Regions from separate parts of the Homo sapiens genome. Here regions 1, 2, 3 and 4 are each linked to region 5. Evidence: promoter capture Hi-C in 16 types of primary human blood cells and fetal thymus (Javierre and others, 2016). All regions are on one chromosome and are shown on one strand. The core of a region is centred on a gene start or on the middle of the fragment in contact, and the rest is flanking DNA. Distances in the headings are between cores, read along the strand shown. Region 1 has its middle 37 kb from the start of LINC01220. Region 2 overlaps DLST (dihydrolipoamide S-succinyltransferase). Region 3 has its middle 54 kb from the start of LINC01220. Region 4 has its middle 60 kb from the start of JDP2-AS1. Region 5 holds the start of NEK9 (NIMA related kinase 9).

Region 1 (2,700 bases), core at 76-2,575, 200 kb after region 5:
GGGGTGACTCAGTGATCCAGGGTGCTTTCGTCTCAAGACTCTGTCATCTCAACATGTGGCTGGGGAGGAAGAGACAGAGAGAGAGCGAGAGAGGCCAGGTGCGGTGGCTCACTCCTGTAATCCCAGCACTTTGGGAGACCAAAGCTGGTGGATCACTTGAGGTCAGGAGTTTGAGACCAGCCTGGCCAACATGGCGAAACCCCATCTCTACTAAAAATACAAAAATTAGCCAGGCATGGTGGCACATGCCTGTAATCCCAGCTACTCAGGAAGCTGAGGGAGGAGAATCGCTTGAACCCGGGGGGCAGAGGTTGCAGTGAGCCGAGATCATGCCACTGCACTCCAGCTCCAGACTGGGTGACAGAGCGAGACTCTGTCAAAAAAAAAAAGAAAAAGAAAAAGAGAGAGAGAGAATGATTTAGCCTTGGAGTGATCATCCAACTTCTGCTCATGACCCATTGTCCAGAACCAGTGACCCAGTTCCATCTAAATGCTACAGGGCTAGGAATGTAGGGGAGCCCATGTGATATTTGGTGGGCAGTGCTGTCTGTGCCACAGAAAGAGTAAGGCATGCTGGGAAACTGCAAGTCCTTCCAAGTGGCTAGAGCTTATTGAGTGTGTGTGTGTGTGTGTGTGTGTGTGTGTGTGTGTGCGTTGGGGATTAGTAGGCAGGGTTGGAGAGAGAAATGATAGGGAGTGAGGTGAGTTGAGGTCAGTCACAAAGGGGCTTTGTAAGCCATGTTCAATGTTGAAGAATTTGAACTTTAGGGCGACATGGAAGAATTTTATTAGGATATGATAGGATTATATTGGCATTTTAGAAAGATCAGACTTTCATATGGAGACTTGGGATGGAGGGGGCAAGATTGGAGAACAGCGAAGAAGCTTTTGCTGTCATTAGGAGAGAGGCAATGGTGCCCTGAACAAGGAAGGGGCTGTAGGGATGAGGGAGGTGGGAACATTCAAGGCTTATGTAGGAAGTGAAATCAGTAGCTGAAGTGCAGGAGAAGAGGGGTGAAGGGTAGACCTCGTATTTGTGGGTTGAGCGACTGAGTGGAGGGTTCTGTTTACCTGCTCAGGCATGGCAGGAAGAGTAAGTTTAGGGGAAAGACAATGTGTTCAGTTTTGGACACGGTGAATTTCAGGGGTCTGTAGAACACCCAAGGGGAGAAGTTCAGAAGGCATTTGCCTTGTTCAAGGCATTTGGCTATAAGAGTCTGGTGCTGGGGAGTGTGAGGTTGGTGATGTTGATTCGGGAGTCATGAGCATATAGGTGGTATTTGAAGTCCTAATGATGGAAAGTTGAATGAAACATTATCCCTGGGCCAGGCGTGGTGGCTCATGCCTGTAATCCCAGGATTTCGGGAGGCCAAGGCAGAAGGACTGCTTGAGCCCAGGAGTTCAGGACCAGCCTGGGTAAGATGGTGAGACCCTGTCTCTACCAAAATTTTTTAGAAATTAACTGGATGTGGTGGCACGTACATGTGGCTATTTAGGAAGCTGAAGCGGGAGGATCCTTTGAGCCCAGGAGTTTGAAGTGCCAGTGAGGTATAATTGTATCACTCTACTCCAGCCTGGCCAACAGAGCGAGACCTTGTCTCAAAAAAATAAAAATAAAAAATAAAGTCCCTGCTCTCAAGTAGTTAAAAGTTTAGTGTGGGGTGGGGGCTAGGCATGCAAGGAACAATTGGATTTCAAGGTGAACTGTATAACACAGAGGTATGTACAGGGCTCAGTGGTGACACAAGGCCTGGGAGGGTCAGAGAAAGCTTTAGAGAAGAGGGGCTGAAACTGAGTAAGAGCTTGGCAGGTGGACTGGGGAAGGCCAGTCTATGTGGAGGGCAGAGCAAGTGCAAAGGCATGGAGATGCCAAAGCAGCACTGCCCAGCCAAGAAGTTCTGTTTTCTGGAGCATTTCAGTGTGCTCATCTAAGGAAGAGGCAGCAGAAGCACTTGAGATCTTTGAGGAAACACTTGTCCATCAACATCTGTGTAGTGCGTGTTGAATACCCATGGCCTAGCTTTACACAGATGAAGGGTTTGTGATAAGGTGGCATTAAAAAAGAAATTAAACATTTTATTTTATTATTATTTTTTGTTTGTTTTTGTTTTTTGAAATGCAGTCTCACTCTGTCACCCAGGCTTGAGGGCAGCGGCATGATCTCCGCTCACTGTAACCTCTGCCTCTGGGGTTCAAGAGATCCTCCCACCTCAGCCTCCCAAGTAGCTGGGATTACAGGCACCCGCCACCATGCCCAGCTAATTTTTCTATTTTTAGTAGAGACGGGGTTTTGCCATGTTGGCCAGGCTGGTCTCAAACTACTGACCTCAAGTGATCCACCCACCTCAGCCTCCCAAAGTGCTGGGATTACAGGCATGAGTCACTGCACCTGGCCAAAATAAATAAATAAATAAAATAAAAATAAACATTTAAAAAGTCATTTTTAATCATTTTTTCAAACACATAAAAATGTAGAAAAAATAACACAATAAATCCATGTGTATTTATCACCCAGGTTCAATAATTTCTAATGTTTTGCCAATATTTGTTCATTAATTCATTTCTCCCTTTTTGGAAGGCTGGAGAATTAATTTAACTTTATATTACGGAGGCAGTAGACAGAAGAGTATAATGAACCCTCATCTACTCATTACCTAGTCCCAAGAAATATTGACCCAAGGCCATTCCTTCCCTATCCAT
Region 2 (2,712 bases), core at 174-2,673, 240 kb before region 5:
AAGAGATAGAAGATGGTATAGAGACTGAAGGAGTTTAGATTTTATCCTAGCAGTTAAAAAGAAAAAAGTGTCATCCATAGCTTTTTTTCTGTTATATGCCTAGCCTAAGTATTTGTTGAATGAGTTGACCTTGTTGTGGGCTTTCTTTGTGCCAAGCATTTATATGAGTGCTTTCTGTGAATTTTTTAGTTAATCATCTCAAAACAGTAAAAAGTATTTTCTCTATTTTACAAATGCATAACCCAAGACAAGAGAGCTTAAAAGCCTTGGCCATGGTCACCCACCCAGCTGTTGATAAGCCAGGTCTACCTGACCCATCCTGAACTCTTAACCCACCATGTTCTCATTTACTCATGGACTCAACAGATCATTTATTGAGTGCTTACTATATGCCAGCCACTGTTCTAGGTAACAGGGGTATAGATAGACTCTAGCCTCGAGATTTTATGGGCTAGCTGGAGAGAGAGAGCAAATATACATTTATGCTCCGACAAGGGCATAAATTTTGGTTACTACGAGAGAGGAATTAAAGGGTGTGATGAGAGGGTGGGATGATGTAGACCAGCTTGGGAAGGTTGGGAATGTCAGTAAAGGCTTCCCTGAAGAAGTGACATTTAACTGAGACCTGAATATAAAAGAGCCAAGAAAATGTATTCCAGGCAAAGGGAATTGCTTGTGCAAAGGTTTTCAGACAGGAAAGGACTTGACCAGTGATAGACATGGGAAGAAGCCTGTCTGGCAGGAAAGATAGAGTGGGCTGGACGGTACAGGATCGCGTAAAGTGTGGACTTTATCCTGAGAGTTATGAGAACATAAAGCCCCTAGCACAATGTCGGCTTGTAGTGGACTCTCAATAACAAACATGTTTTTCAAGTGGGAACCCTGAACAATGTCAGTAAACATTTTCTCCACTTCATAGGTGGGCAGGACAATGGAAAGAGCCTTGCACTTGGGGATTTGCATTTGGGCTCAGGGATTCACCTTGGGCTAGTCGCTTAACCTCCAAAAGTCCTACTTATATGAAATGGGAATAATGGCAGATGGTCGTTCCACTTCAGAGAGTTGTGAGACTGTAAAATCAAAATGAGGTCATTATGGGAAAGCTTTTTATAAACCCTAAAGCACTGTACAAATGAAATTTGCTGTAGGATGAACTCTGAATTGGACTCCAGGTTCCCAAAATCAGTGTGAGCCGCCATCTATTCTAGTTCAAAAACATACTATGCTTAGAATTTGCACTGCATAGTCATTGGCTGCTGGACATAAAGGTGACTGGCTTACCTATCTTGGGATGCTTGTGAGGAGGTGGGCATAAGAGAGGGCTAGCTCTCATTTGGTGTGTCCTGAGCCCATGGTTCAGAAAGAGTTGTTAATCTGAAAGAAAAAAGACATAAGAAAGAATTCAGAAGAGGCAGCTGTAGTTACTAGTCATCAGTTGGGGAAATGCAGTTAACTATGATAAGGACAGCTGGTGGGCAGAAAGGGTCTCTCACCTTGTTGAGAGTGACCAGGGTGGAAGACTTCAGAAAGGCATGGGAAGTCAATAAACTGAAAGATGGGGACATGATTTTCTCAGCTCTAGGACAAACTGGAGACCCCGAGCCTAAAGTAGCCAAGTCTTTGCTACTAGGATTCAGGTGATAAGATTTCCAACCCAATCTTTTCAAACCCAGACCAAACATCCTCCTTGCTTCTCAAATTGGGTTATGTATAGTCACAGGATAAGCCATCCCATGTCTTTCTCAAGCTTCAGTTGTATTTGAAGACTTGGCGAGTAGAGACATTTTATTATGAAAACATACAGGAATAATGAAAAGTTCTGGCTTTTTAAGGTAGATGAGATTATATAATCACTTTGGGCTGTGCCATCAAATTTTTTCTCTTTCCTCCCCAGCCAAACACATACCCACTCGATCTCACATACCCATTTGCTCTCTGCCACTAAGGCTACTTTGGAAAAGTTTGAGAAGCAGGACTCTATGATAAAGATTATATCCGTTGCCGTTGATCCTGCTCTGTCTCAGGGTTGGGGGTGAGCAGACCTTTTCCATTCCCAGCATGTATCCTTTGTGAGATAAGAGTTGTTGGTTAAGAGTTATTTTGTTTCTTGCAGGGGTCTCCTTATGCCAGGGACCAGGTTACCCTAACAGCAGGAAGGTTGTGTAAGTATCACTGGGGAGTACAGATATGTGGCCACGGGTTATTTATTTAAAGACATAAAGTTCTAAATTTGACCATCTGATTTCTTCACTGGCCTCCAGACCTAGAAATTGAGGTGATTATGTTGAGTCCCTAGACTAACCTCAATGTTCACTTTTCCCATGTGATGTTCCTTGAGCATCAGCTCCGTGTCAGGTTTTGGACTGGGAGTGTGCCCACTCTCCACAGGTGTTTGGATTATAATGAAAGTTAAGTTGGAATCCTCTTTTTATGGGATATAGAAGGGTGCTCCTAGATATTCTGTTTGGATGTAAGTGCAGCTGAAAGGCTCGAGGTTACATTTATTGTGGAGATTGAGAGCATCCTCTCAGTAGCATAGTTACTCATTTTTAAAAACAGTAAAAGCATAAAACTGGTTGAGTCCTGGGACTGACTGACTAGTTTGGAGGGAATGCTGTTATTGCATAATGCAGAGTTTGGAGAAAGGCTACCCATGTGTGTTTCAGATTAACTTCTGCGTATGAATGTTGCTTAAATGCTGCTTTGCATTCC
Region 3 (2,795 bases), core at 102-2,601, 220 kb after region 5:
AACATCAGAAAATGGACTAAGACATATTACCTGTCAGATTGCATTAAAGGATCCAAAATGAGTTTCTGCATTCTTTGGGAGATGTAAAAAGGCGTTTCAGAATTTCCCTAAACTAGCCCCCAGTACCCAAAGGGCCCTCTTCAATGCGGGGACTAAGTTTAACCAGGTGAGTTTCAGCTTTTCTGTATCTGAAGAGCCCATCCTCTGAAGAGCCTGAAGTCCTCTGAAATTCTGCTGGATCTTATTGTGATTGTTTTTAGAGACTTTCAGAGGTGAACAGCAGCATCACCTCAACTCCTCTCCTGGAGTTGACCCTGACCCCTGACAGCAGCATCCTCTCGTCAGCTCTTGTGATGCTTGGAGATGACCTCTCAGAGCTCTGCTTGGGCAGGAGGTGGATGGATTTGTTTAGGCAGGCGTGGAGGTGGGTTGGAGTAGGCGATTTTGGTCTGTCTGTGCGCTCCATCCTATGTGGCCTTGACTCGGAGGTGGTTTGGCATCATATCAGTCAGAGGCTTTGACTATAAGGGAAAAAGGGAAATTACAGGAAGGCTATCAGGGGTTCACAGAGTTGTTGGGGGTTAGAAAAGCAGGCTTGGAAAGTGACCAGGAGTGACGCAAAGAGCACAAAGGCGTTTTATCTGGGTCAGGCTGACCCCAAATTGCTGCCCCTGCTCCCAGCCTCCAGAGCACTGTCACCATTGCCATCAGACATACTACCTCTTCCTCAAATGCCCCTGAACTGGCCCTTTGCTTCGGTCACTCATTCCAGCCTCAAAATCCCTGGTAGGAATGGCTGATTAGCTGAGCCTAGGTCACGTTCCCAGGCCTGCTCAGTGTGGCGGAGGTCAAAAAGAGAACCTCCTCATTTCCATTTCTGGAGGTGGTTGGAGATGGGGAGGGACTGCATTTATCCCATACCGCACAATGGGGAGTTGTCCCAGATGATTAAGGGAGTTAATGCTGGACAATCAAAAACTCCTGATGGATTTCTACTCTGAAGAGCATCTGGGGCATGTTTGATGTTGTACAGACAGCAGACCCTACCCACTACTTCATTCATGGTGCCTGGTTGGAGACTGAGGAAGCCAGGCACCACCATCATAAATCCTCAGACCTCATCACGAAATACCTGATGGTTCTGGAGATAAGTACCTGCTGCCTGGGCCTCTTGGTAGGCCTTGCTGCCCTGGGGCTGGTATGGGGCTGGAGCGGATCCACAGCCAGACACTTTATGAGGCAACCAGAAGAGAGGTTAGAAACATGGAGATGCCAGCCTTCCCCACATGTCAGTCTGGGAGAAGCATGGCGGAGGATAATCCCAGGAGTTAACTGGCAAAGGAACAAAGGAAGAGGCATGATCACTTGTACTGGGAGTCAAGACCATGCCCTGGGTGATACCCCCTATTCCCCAATAACAAGCAATTAACATTTGTGTGAGGTTCCTATTTTTTAGGCACCTTCCTGTATGTTTGACAAAAAAAGGGTTTTTTTGTTTGTTTGTTTGTTTGTTTGTTTGTTTGAGATGGAGTCCTGCTCTGTCACCAGGCTGGAGTGTAGTGGTGCTTTCTCGGCTCACTGCAATCTCCATCTCCTGGGTTCAAGTGATTCTCCTGTCTCAGCCTCCTGAGTAGCTGGGACTACAGGCACTTGCCACCATGCCCGGCTAATTTTTGTATTTTTAGTAGAGACAGGGTTTTACCATATTGGCCAGGCAGGTCTTGAATTCCTGACCTCAAGTGATCTGCCCGCCTCGGCCTCCCAAAGTGCTGGGATTACAGGCGTAAGCAACCGCACCCAGCCAAGAAAAGGATTTTAAATGGCGAAATAATAATATAGTAAATGTTTTCCTTAGGTTTGAATGAGGTTATACAAGATGGGGTCTTCTTGAGGGCAGGGACCACTTTTTTACTTGCCTTTGCCTCTCTGGTGTATAGCATAACAACTGGGGGATGATTAAGTGCTCAGTAACTGTTTATTGGATGAACGAAGACTAGCAATTGTGTGAGAACCAATGTCATTAAGTTGATACTTAGGGGCAGGTTGAGCAGCTGTGGTTGGGCTGCTTGGTTGAGACAAGGTTGAAATTCTTCAAGATATGGGGCTTATTGAGGGGTTAGGTTGCAGACCAAGCACTCCAGGCTGAGAGGTGATTGCTATGTGTTCACCAACCTCCATTTCCTTTTCCTTTTGGGCACATGGCTAGATTACATTTCCCAGCCTCTCTTGTAGTTTGCTGGGGCATGTGACTCAGTCCCGACCAGTGGGATGCAGGTGAAAGTGCCGTATACCACCTCTGGTCCTGGTTCCTAAAAGTGTCCCCTGTGATCCATCACTCTCTCTGGTCTTTCATCTGCTGGCTGTACACTGAGGATGTAGTGGGGGATTCCAAGTCTTAGGAGATAACAGAGCCACTAGGGAAAGGGCTTGGGTCCCTGAATGACTATATGGAGCAGAGTTCCTCACCTTTGATTTCTCATTGATCTGTGACAGAAGTAAGAAATTAACCTGTATTGTGTTAAGCCACTGAGATTTTTGGTTGTCACAGAGTGGTCATTAGCTACCCTACTACAGGACAACTCATTTTAATCTGGGGAGGGAGAGAGTGGTGCTAAGTATTGCTAGTTATGGCAGAGGCCTGGCTGCAATTTTCCTCCCCTAAACTGAAAACAAACAGATGTGCTCACAGACATAGAGAAGTTAGGAGAGAGAGAACCAATTGTCAGGGAGGACTTGGGACCCTTCTAAGCTTGAAGGTTTTAAGGTGACAGGGATATATCCAAGTGGACGTTCTG
Region 4 (2,778 bases), core at 160-2,659, 240 kb after region 5:
TGCTGAGTGACTAGGGAGCAGATGCTGGGACACTCAGAGGCTGCTAAAACCAAGCACCTTGGGCTTCCTCATCTACCAGCTGTGGAGTTGTCATGACTTATGTGCTGCAGTGGGCTGGTTGTCCACTGATATCCATTTCCCCCTCCATTTGATAACAGAACTCCAGAGTGGGAGCTGGACAGAAGGCCACCCAACCTCCTTTGTTATTGGGTCTGTCCATGTGACAATGTCTCAGCCACTGAGGGATCAGAAGAAACACACGTTTGAGTGTGGCCCAAAAAAGGAGTGTATGGCTGCTTCTCTTCCCATTTCTCGTTCTTACTGGGGGGATGAGGACCACTGGAGAAGCCACCTTGGATGCAGCAATGGAAGCCTGCATTGAAGATGGCAGAGCCACCCTAATAGCCTGGACCACCTACCTGTGGGCTGGTGTATTTCTTTTATAAAAAATTTTTTTTTGTAGAGACAGGGTCTCTCTTTATTGACCAGGCTGGTCTCAAATTCCTAGCCTCCAGTGATCCTCCTGTCTTGGCCTCCCAAAGTGCTGGGATTACAGGCGTGAGCCACCATGCCAGCCGGCTTGTGTATTTTAAGCCTCTTTCTTACAGCTTAGTTTGTACCAAAATCTGTTTAGTAGAAGGAACCTTAGATGACTAGTGCTTTGTCCTGCAGTCTCACAAAAGTCACCCTATTTTTCCAGGCCTCAATTGCCACATCTGTCAGATGGGAATATTAATAACTCTTTACTCTCTCCATGGGAAACTTCTAGGAACTGCAGATGTGCTATGATTTGCAAAGAGTAGAAAGCAAGGTAAAGTGTGTGGGGAGGGTTTTCAGGGTGAGTGAGTGAGAATCTCCCATCAGAGTTTATCATGCAGCCATTTCCTCTTCAGGGGCTTTTGATTAGCTCAGTTAAATGTCTGGTCCAGCTAATCAGAGCCAAGGTAGGCCCTGTGGTGGTTCACCATCTCCCCAGACACAATTCTCCCCAGCCTTTCAAGTGCTCAGAAAACACAAAGTTTGTCTTGGCTGTAAGGGGTCAGACCTAAGGAAGTGATCCGGGTCGAAAAGCTTTTACACAATTGTAAGTAGTGGAATGTGCTGAACCCAGTTGAACCTCATTAAAATGCCACAGTGGGTTGAGTGTTCATGTTTCATGTTCGTGATGTTTGAATGTTTAAATTCACATGAAAAATGTAAGCAATGAGACGCAATAACTGGCAGGGTCTGGGCCACTATTTTAGGCAGACGGCTACCTGATGGTGTTAGCAGTGTTGACAGAACACATTGACTCTGAAGGACATGGTGGGGTTTCAGCTCAGGCAGGATCTGCACGTGGCTTGTAGATGTTTCCCACTCGGCTAAGCCACCATGAACAGGATTTGGCTTTTCTTATGCAACCCTGTCCTGTGCTTAACACACACCTGTTTGATTTGTGATACATGAAGGATAGAGCCAGTGGGATCTGGGAAAGAGGGGCAAAGAGCAGTTTGAGAATGTCTTGGGGAAATTGAATGAAGAAGGAAAAAAAGGAAGGGCGTTCAGGCAAGAAATAAGACAATGTGTTGGAAGATTGGGAACAAATTTCTTAAATATCTCACAGTAGAAGAATAATAAATTATGGCCCAATTACTCATTCCATTCATTTAAAAACACATATTGTCTACCGTACACCAGGTTCCAGTGTTCCTAGGTTCAGGGACAAAATCCTGCACTTCATATTATGCACTATTTAAAATGATAGTTATGAAGCTTACATAACAACATGGAAAATGCTTATGATATAAATTTAGCAGAAGATACGAGGGTCAAATTAGTGTACACTGTGATGACAGACTGAAAAAAACAGATGCAGAGGAGAATGAAGTGAGAAACTATGGCAAAAAGTAATGATTGATTGTGTTAGGGTGGTGGGGTTTTGGGGCAACCTTTCTGAATTTCCCAAACTTTCAGTACTGTAGTCGTATTGCATTCGTAAGTCTAAAAAAAGTGTTGTTGTTTTTTCTTAAATAAGAAGGGGCATTATCCAACCAACTGACCCTCCCATATTAACCACCCTGCCACAGTAGCCTTTGAGAAGAACTTCACAATGGAGAAGCTCCTTCTCCTGTGCCAACCCAATTGCTGACATTCTCCAGTTAGCAGGTCCCTGCTGCTGAGAGTCTCAATCATAGATATTAAAGTCTGGGAGGGGCCCAGAAAGTCAAAAGTGAATCCCTATTCTTGGTGATGGCAAGTTCAGCAGCAATCTAGTGGAAATGAAGAGGCCTCCAGTCCAACACAGTATGGGGGCTGGTATTTCCCCTGACTCTCAGAATCTGTGTGTCCATCTATTTGGGGTATGAGATGAAGGGCTTGGCCAGCTTCTTACCTTAGGAATGTATGCACCAGGCACTGCTGCCAAACCAAGCCTAAGACACTCACTGCTGTGCTTGATTCCTATGAAGTAAGCAACAGTTCTGTCTGCCTACTCCAAACAGACTTGTCCATGAATTTCCGATTAGCCTGCCTGGGGCATAACTCTGGGATGCAGCTTTGGAATCAGACAGATCTGAATTTTTAAAAATTTACAAACATTTAATTGAAGATCTACATGCACACAGTTAGAAAGATAAATGGCACAGAAGGACTTAAGTTAAAAATAGGCCTCCATCCCACTCCTTGGATTCAATCTTGCCTCCTGGAGGCAGTAGCTTTTAACTGTCTCAATTTCTGGTTATGCCAGTTTGCCTTCATATCTCTAAGCAATATGATAATTCTTCTCTGTTCCAGTAGGTC
Region 5 (2,700 bases), core at 175-2,674:
ATTTTGAGTGCAAAAAAGAAAACAGACTACTAAGAATAACTAACTCTAACATCATACATTAACGTGGCATCAGGATAAAAAAGAACACTTAAAAATATTCTCTTGCAACCACTTCTCTCCTTCTCCATCTTTCAGCCTTAAAAGTATGCTGGCTTGGAACACACACCAGAACTGCAGATGGATTTCCGACGGATGAATCACCTTCAGCAACCCCAGCAAGTTCTCATTAAATGTTTACCCTAAAGTAAGATTTTATGATCAAATCTAGTGTATCGTTAGTTTTTGGAAGTAGAATAATCACTGCAGGGTTTTACACTAGTATATATTAACTTGGGATTCCGTGATCCATGGATCTCTCCAAAGGATGTGCATATGTGCAAATGTGTTGATGGAGGGGGCAAGATTACTTTGCTTAGGTTATCAAAGGGGTCCTTGTGCCCCCCAAATTAAGAACTAATGGCTTAGAATATACCAACAAAGTATTTCCCATGCATAAACCCTGCAAGATAAACACTGATAAAGAACCAACACACAAAGATCTTCCCAATGAGCTTCAAGAAAAGCTTCCAACTGAGTGATCACTGCTGAACTTAAAGATAATGACAAAAATAACGGAGTTGCCACGGGTGTGGGGATTTTGAAGCTATGCCCCTCCTCCTCACCCCGACCTTGGAGAACTATATATACAGCATGAGAGGAAGGAAGTTTTGGCAATACCTCACATTCGTATACCACTTTAATTTACAGAACAGAGCCTTCGTTTGATTCTCAAGATAATCTTAAAAAAAAAAGAAAAAGATGATTTCAAGGTATTATCAGTAAGCCCATTTTACAGATGGGGAAACTAAAGCTCAAGAGACGGTTAGGTGACTTAGGACAATCAAAAATGACTAGTCAAACCAATGATCTAGCCAATTTCTAGTGCCGGTGAGTGGGAAGAGTGGTGAAGACCCTAAGACATATACCCCGTGGGCGCCTAAAGCACTAAGCTCACGACGCTGGGAAAGCGGGGCCGAGAAGGAGGGACTCGGGGCGACCCGACAGCGCCAGACAGGGCGGCCGGCGCCGAGGGCCGCTACCTCGGTGCGGCGGTACAGCGTGGCTTCCCCGAAGGCGCCGCGGCCCAGGACGCGGATGGGGATGTAGTGCAGTTCCTCCTGCTCCGCCGCGCCGCCGCCGGCTCGCGGCCCCTGACTGGCGCTAGGCCCCGGACTCGAGTCCCCGCAACCCCCGGACTCGCTCCCAAAGTCCGAGTTGATGGAATCGCAGTGTCGCTCGTACTCGCCCAGCACCGACATGGCGGCGGCCGCGGGCCTTGGGGACCAGCCTGCGTATGCCCGGAGGCCCTGGCCGCGCTGCGTCCCGCTCGCTTCAGATGCCGGCCCGCGGATCCGTCAGCCCAGCAACCCCGCGAAGCTCGATGGTGGCTCCTGCCCCCCGACCCGGAAACAGTTCTCTGTGTTTCCGGCCTGGCTGAGTTTCCTCCGCCTTTGCTTACCCTCTTGGCTAGTCTAGCGGCCAAGGCTTCCCGCTTTCGGGGAAGGCCTGCAAAGTGAGGCCTCGGGCTAGGGTTGGCGGGCGCGTGGTGGGAACCGCGTGGAACCGAAGGGCTCCCACGGGAACAAGGGCATCACTGACGGTACGGCCTCTCGGGTCTATTGACCCTTCTCTGCCTCCCCGGTCCGGACTCATACAACTTGGAGGCCCAGAGGTCGTCCAGTCTCATCTTGACGTCAGGTCTGTGACAAGAGGGTGATTGGGGAAGCATTCCCAGTGTACACCTTCTTCCCCATTCCAACGTTGGACAGCATTCTTTTTTAGAGAGATAGTATAGTAAAGATAATATGGCCGGGCAAGGTGGCTCACGCCTGTAATCTCAGCATGTTAGGAAGCCGAGGCGGGCGGATCACCTGAGGTCAGGCGTTTGAGACCAGCCTGACCAACTGGTGAAACCCCGTCTCTATAAAATACAAAAATTAGCCAGGCGTGGTGGCAGGCACCTGTAATCCCAGCTACTCCAGAGGCTGAGGCAGGTGAATCACTTGAACCCGGAAGGAGGAGGTTGCAGCGAGCCGAGATCGCGCACTACACTCCAGCCTGGATAACAGAGCGAGACTTTGTCTCAAAAAAAAAAAAAATAATAATAATATAGACAGCCTAAATGTCTGCCTCCGGTCATCTCGGTCCCTGGGCCGAGTTCTTTCTCCCAGGGCCATCCTAAGTCCCTCCCTCTTCTACACAACTCCAAAAATATTTTAAGTCAACTCTCCTGACACTTTCCTTCTCCCCCGTCTCTTTTTCCAGATTCAATTTATTCTATGTGTTTTTCCAGATATTTGACCATATGATATCATGAAACATTCTTTGAGCACTTGGTGCCACACACTGTTTGGGAACAGGAAATCTGCAATAATGTTCTCCCTACCGTCAAGTAGGAAAACAGCAATACGGTGAACAATAGGTGTTCCATCAGTTATGTGACCTTGGGCAATTATGTGACCTTGGGCAACTTCTCATCTCCAAGCTTGTTTTGTTGTGAGAATGTGGTCTACATCACAGACATAACAGCTAACATTTATTGAGTGTTATGTTCTGGGTACTATGCTAAAGGTTTTTTACGTATTATCTCACATTATTATGTATTATCCTATGTATTATGTATTATGTATTATCCTAACATTCCCATTTTACAGAAACAGA

Evidence for each region. Contacts are between HindIII fragments. The CHiCAGO score rates a contact against its expected background, and 5 or more counts as called.
Region 1: a fragment that was not itself captured here is called in contact with the fragment with the promoter of NEK9 in region 5 in 11 of 17 cell types (monocytes, neutrophils, activated CD4 T cells and 8 more); the score reaches 13.4 in monocytes.
Region 2: a contact is called between a fragment that was not itself captured here and the fragment with the promoter of NEK9 in region 5, in 1 of 17 cell types (erythroblasts). The highest score is 5.2, in erythroblasts.
Region 3: a fragment that was not itself captured here is called in contact with the fragment with the promoter of NEK9 in region 5 in 6 of 17 cell types (monocytes, neutrophils, activated CD4 T cells and 3 more); the score reaches 14.8 in monocytes.
Region 4: a contact is called between a fragment that was not itself captured here and the fragment with the promoter of NEK9 in region 5, in 2 of 17 cell types (monocytes and neutrophils). The highest score is 13.2, in monocytes.

Annotation. Positions count from the first base shown.
Region 1 is chr14:75,329,748-75,332,447 of GRCh38, forward strand. No RefSeq gene overlaps it. Among named protein-coding and RNA genes, the nearest start is that of LINC01220, 37 kb to the left of the region's middle. The HindIII fragment of the contact is 884 bases long and covers 884-1,767 here.
Region 2 is chr14:74,883,473-74,886,184 of GRCh38, forward strand. DLST (dihydrolipoamide S-succinyltransferase) reads left to right here. Exons shown (of 15, transcript NM_001933.5): 3 at 2,114-2,162. Among named protein-coding and RNA genes, the nearest start is that of DLST, 2.9 kb to the left of the region's middle. The HindIII fragment of the contact is 644 bases long and covers 1,102-1,745 here.
Region 3 is chr14:75,347,405-75,350,199 of GRCh38, forward strand. No RefSeq gene overlaps it. Among named protein-coding and RNA genes, the nearest start is that of LINC01220, 54 kb to the left of the region's middle. The HindIII fragment of the contact is 2,792 bases long and covers 1-2,747 here.
Region 4 is chr14:75,366,043-75,368,820 of GRCh38, forward strand. No RefSeq gene overlaps it. Among named protein-coding and RNA genes, the nearest start is that of JDP2-AS1, 60 kb to the right of the region's middle. The HindIII fragment of the contact is 681 bases long and covers 1,070-1,750 here.
Region 5 is chr14:75,125,624-75,128,323 of GRCh38, forward strand. It overlaps NEK9 (NIMA related kinase 9), which reads right to left and starts at 1,425. Exons shown (of 22, transcript NM_033116.6): 1 at 1,080-1,425. The coding sequence starts at 1,298. RefSeq lists enhancers at 1,289-1,338, 1,349-1,478. The HindIII fragment of the contact is 1,961 bases long and covers 562-2,522 here.